Regions from separate parts of the Homo sapiens genome. Here region 2 is linked to region 1. The links are contacts of gene promoters, found by promoter capture Hi-C in blood cells and fetal thymus (Javierre and others, 2016). All regions are on one chromosome and are shown on one strand. The core of a region is centred on a gene start or on the middle of the fragment in contact, and the rest is flanking DNA. Distances in the headings are between cores, read along the strand shown. Region 1 holds the start of CELF6 (CUGBP Elav-like family member 6). Region 2 overlaps NEO1 (neogenin 1).

Region 1 (2,700 bases), core at 112-2,611:
GGCAGAATGGTGAAACCACCATCTCTACAAAAAAAAAAAAAGAAAAAAAATTATCCAGGCATGGTAGCGTGCACCTGTCATCCCAGCTACTTGGGAGGCTTAGGTGGGAGGATCGCTTGAACCCAGGAGGTTGAGGCTGCAGTGATCTTAGATCGCACCACTGCACTACAGCCTGGGTGACAGAATGATAACCTATCAAAAAAAAAAAAAGGAAATCTCTATTAAAATAATTAGCAATTTTACTGAAAGAGGCATGAAAAATATATTATGGAATAAATATATAATTTATGAAGTATGTGTCTTTGTCCAAACATTGTATTACTACTTTGTGCAAACATCACTGATCCATCAAGAGAATACCTAGACATGTGCAGGAGTAATAAAATTCCATCAGCTCTGATATTTTGCCAACTTTCAGTCATATAGAAAGCGTAGCTGTACATATGTCTTTCATTTTCGTAATTCTGAACCTGTATTTGTGAAAATAAGAGGGGAACATATTTAACAAATTGTAATTTGATTTGTATCTTTTAAATGTTTAGATGCACAGTATGTCGATTTCCATTTCTTATTTTGCGCTGGGCCCAACAAATGTTGGGGTGGGCCTGGCCCTAACATCCTCGACCCTCAGAACCTCAGCTTCCTTTTCCGGAAAAAGAGAACACTCCTGAGTTCACAGAACTGGGATGAACTGGGCACCTGGTGCATAATGGGTTCTGAGTAAATACGGCTAAGTTCCCTCACTCTCCTAAGGAGGAATCCGTGTTCAAGGAGTGTTTAAGGGGTTTTTATTTTATTCTTCCTTTCTTTTTAAGGCTGCAAGGGAGACGAATGTGTCTGAGGCTCAGGGGTAAGAAAGTGGTTAAAGACACCGAAGACAGAGATGTGTGATGGGGCGGGGTGGGATTGGCTCCGAGGGACTGGCTCGATAGTGGGAATAGAGAAGAGGAATCCCCATCCACCCCCGCAGGAAACGCACCAGCGTTTGGAGGTGTGTGTGCCTGCGTGTGCCTGCGTTTGCCTGTGTGTGCCTGTGTGTGCGGTGGGGATTAGCCCCGACTCCGGCAGACACCATCACGCATGACGAAGCTGCTTCCCCTCACGCGGCCCAAGGCGCACACGCGCGATCCACGGCCACGCCCGCACACACTCGACACACACAGGGCATTCGAGGGTCCGGTTGCCATGGCGAGCAGGAGCGCGTGAGCCCAGCCGCCCCCCCCGCCCCCGGCGAGCCCAGTCAACTCCCACTCTGATTGGCGGCTGCTTCCTCATTATGCAAATCATTTGCGTAGACTCGGCGGCCAGCTGCCTGACGTCACCAAGCACGGGGGCTGGGGCTCGGGGCTCGGCTCTGGGAGAGCTCGGGCGGGAGCCCAGAGAGAGCCGCACGGGGACCTCAAGCCAGACCCCAGCGTTCAGCCGCCACCTCGGCCCGGGCCCGCCCCGCCCCGGCCCCGCCCCTTTCCTGCCCGCCCCACCCCCTCTACGCCCCTCCACCCGGACCCCGCCCCCTGGGCAGCCCCCCGCCCTCTCCGCCCGGGCTCCGCCCCCTCCCCCTGGCCCTCGCCACCGGTCCAGGGAGGGGACGGCGGGACAGGCGGGACCAGTGGGACCGGCGGGAGGGCTGACAGGGCGGGGACATGGCCGCGGCGCCGGGAGGGTCAGCGCAGCCCGCTGGCCCCGGCCCGCGCCTGGGTTTCAGCACCGCGGACAGCGGCGTCGGCATGAGCGGGCTAAACCCCGGTCCCGCCGTACCCATGAAGGACCACGACGCCATCAAGCTCTTCGTGGGGCAGATCCCGCGGGGCTTGGACGAGCAGGACCTCAAGCCGCTGTTCGAGGAGTTCGGCCGCATCTACGAGCTGACGGTGCTGAAGGACCGGCTCACCGGCCTCCACAAAGGTGCGCGGGGTCAGCCCAGCCCAGCCCAGCCCCAATCCGATTAGAGTGTGGCCCGACCCCAGCCCAGCCCCAGCCCTAGCCCTGCCGAGAGCCAGTCCAACACCAGTCCAATATCAGCCCCACCTCAGCCCAGCCCCCTTCCCAGATCACAGAATTTTCTCTCTGACATCCTCCCTCTGATTATCACTGTGGTCCCCTAACATGTTCTCCACTCTAACCTCCAAATTCCTGGCCTCCACCTCTCACATCCCAGCAGTCCCTGCCTTTCAATTGGACCTTTCCACCACCTCTCCCATCAGACCTAAAATTCTGGAATTTGAAAACTTATTCCACCTTCTAGATCTCGAATACCCTCAATTTCCCAAACCCTGAGCCCAAACACTCCTGAATCCTCCATCTGGTGGCACCTCACTCAGGCCTAACCACCCACATGCATATCTTGGACTTGCACCCCTCCTCTGGCCTCCTAGTCCGGCCATCCCCCTCAAGAGCCTTCTTTTGACTCTCAGACTGCCAACCTAAAACACCGCAGACCCAAACCCTCCCCTTCTTCAGAACCCAGACCTGTCTAACACAAAATCCAATTCAATTCCCAGGAGGCTCTCAGTTCCAGACACCCCCTCATGTTCAACAACAGCCCCAATCTCTCCTGCCCTTCGCCAGAATCCCAATGCACTCTACCTCTTTTGATTTCAGTTCAGAACCCTGACCTCAGCTGGGAACTCCTGCCACCCTGTGTCCCTTTCTTCTTGGATTTCTCTCAGCTAAATCCACACTTCTTTCCTTCTCTAATCC
Region 2 (2,700 bases), core at 43-2,542, 760 kb before region 1:
TATAAACTCCAGGAGGACAAGAGACATTTTTATTTTCACTATTTTATCATGTATACCTAACACAGTGCCCATATATAAAATACTGATATGTATTAATAATTCATTTGAGGGTGATAAAACTGTTAGTCTATTTGCTAAAAGTAGTTTTAATATGCCTGCTAATATTTTTAAGTGAATAAACAAAATGCTTTCTTTCCAAAAAAAAAAATCCTTTGTTCTGTGAACTTCATCTTACTGTTTTTTCTTTGTTCTGTGAACTTCATATTACTGTTTTTTCTGTGAATCAATGACTATCCACATTGAAATTTTAGAAAAATTAACAGCAATCTTCTCTTCTCAAAAGCTCATCTTCAAATTTAAGGAGAGTACATTCTCAATGTGTGCAGAATTTATTTCAGCTCAGTAATTCTACAAATGTCATCTTATATTACGATGCGGTAGACAGAAACACATCAGTCAAAATTTACCTACTCTATCGCATTTAAGTAACATTTTCTCAGTGAAAAAAACTTAGGGGAGGAAAATGTTACATATCTAAAGAGCTTAAGTAGACTCGACTCTAAATATTATGGCCACAAAGGCAAGAATCCATTATTAAATTCTTATCAAGTATTTAGGCTGGGCGTGGCGGCTCATGCCTGTAATCCCAGCACTCTGGGAGGCCGAGTTGGGCAGATCACCTGAGGTCAGGAGCTCGAGACCAGTCCGGCCAATGTGGCAAAACCCCATCTCTACTAAAAATACAATAATTAGCTGGATGCAGTGGTGCATGCCTGTAGTCCCAGCTACTCGGGAGGCTGAGGCAGGAGAATCACTTGGGCCCGGAGCAGGGAGTGCGGAGGTTGCAGTGAGCCAAAATTGGGCTACTGCACTCAAGCCTGGGTGACAGAGCAAGACTCCATCTCAAAAAAAAAAAAAAAAATACTAGTATTTGGCTGGGTGTGGTGGCTCATACCTGTAATGCCAGCACTTTGGGAGGCTGAGACAGGAGCTCAAGACCAGCCTGGGCAACATAGTGAGACCCTATCTCTACAAAAACTTTAAAAATTAGCCAGGTGTGGTGGCATGCACCTATGGTCCCAGCTACTCTGGGGGCTAAGGTGGGAAGATTGCTTGAGTCCAGGAGGTCGAGGCTACAGTGAGCTGTGATGGTGCTACTGCACTCCAGTCTGGGTGACAGTGAGTCCTTGTCTCAGAAAAAAAAAAACAAAACACTTAGTACTTGCTGTAATATTTCACCACCAGGTGGCAGATCCATACTACGTTCTGGAAATGTTTTTATCAACCCTGATAAGTTAGTCCAATTAGAAGGAATTTTAGGAAAAGTAAAATAATTTTAACTGTATTTGAACCTGAGCCAGTTAACCACAGGGTAGTTACAATTGGCCCTCAGAACATTATACTTCTATTTAACTGTAAATTTGTCCCCAGGCCATGCAGAGTACCTAATTTTCTTTAAAGAGAACAGAATATTAAAATGCAGTTTTAAAATGTGATTATCTATAGTCCAGTCATTCAAAATCCTGAGAAGTCTAAGAGGAGTTTGAATCCCAAAGTAAAGGGAACATGAAATGAAAAGGTAGAAAAAAATACAGGTGAGACAATGAGAAAAAGGGGAGAGAGATGAAACATCTACCAAACCAAGAAGCTAGCAAAACCCAAGTTACAGCAACGCCCTTCAAAAATGAACATGTCTGTGTTTTATGTGTTCAGCAATATATTCTAATTAATAAGATAAAGACTTTAATCTCAAGTCAATCAGTTAATTATGAAATTGACTTTTCAAATTTTTCAATAATTCTAAAATTCTTAAAATGTATTATTATCAAGATGAAATATATTATCTTGAAATGACTCTTCAGTTATTTTAAAATGCTATTGAAAACGCTATTTGCAAATGCATCCTTGAAATCTAAGGAGAACACCTTAATTTGTTTACCACCTTGGCTGCAGCACACCTTTCCCTCCACTGTCCTTCTTCCAGTCCTACCCAACTTCTCCCGCCTCTTTCTGGCCCATGTTTGCAGGGAGAAGAGATGACCCCTGACACTCAGAAAGAGATCCCTGGCCACTATACACACCAGTCAATGGTTCAACTTCCTCACTAATGCTTCCTTCCTCATGTCCTTTAATCCACTAACCAAATCTACCTCGGCCACAATTAGAAATCAACACCCAACCTCTACCATGAACCAAGGCTGACCTGAGTTTTGTGAAATTTGAAGCATATATAATTTGAGGGCCTTTTTGAAGAAAAAAAAAAATGGAAAAAAATTTTTCAATTTTGCAAATGTTACAAAAATATGTAACTAACAAACACACTACACTGCTAGAGCCTCTCCCAGATCCTAGAAGAGGTCTATGCAAGTGAGGGGATCCAGGGCTCACCAACTTAAGGGTAAATTGTCTCTGCCATGAAGACATGTTGAGGAAAAAACAAGCCTATAAACTCTGTTTGTTAAATAAAACAACTAGTACACCAATTCCATTCAATAAAAGAAAGGCACTGGCTAGAGAGTTACAGTGTTCACAGTTACTTTAGAACAAACTGGCTAAAATTAAGGACAGATAGAAACTGTCTAATGGCAACAAGAGAGCAAAGCACAGAGAAGAAAAAATGTGAGTGGAATCAATGGGGGAAAGGCATACTCATCCACTTCTTTCATACTCCTGAAGCTTATTGCCATCAATTATTTGTAG

The links. The method cuts DNA at HindIII sites, captures the fragments that hold promoters and counts their contacts. A CHiCAGO score of 5 or more calls a contact.
Region 2: a fragment that was not itself captured here is called in contact with the fragment with the promoter of CELF6 in region 1 in 1 of 17 cell types (endothelial precursors); the score reaches 5.9 in endothelial precursors.

What each region holds. Positions count from the first base shown.
Region 1 is chr15:72,318,818-72,321,517 of GRCh38, reverse strand. CELF6 (CUGBP Elav-like family member 6) reads left to right here and starts at 1,361. Exons shown (of 13, transcript NM_052840.5): 1 at 1,361-1,905. The coding sequence starts at 1,644. RefSeq lists silencers at 1,225-1,274, 1,335-1,674. The HindIII fragment of the contact is 9,541 bases long and covers 1-2,700 here.
Region 2 is chr15:73,080,090-73,082,789 of GRCh38, reverse strand. All of the region lies in intron 1 of NEO1 (neogenin 1), which reads right to left. Among named protein-coding and RNA genes, the nearest start is that of NEO1, 29 kb to the right of the region's middle. The HindIII fragment of the contact is 2,772 bases long and covers 1-2,678 here.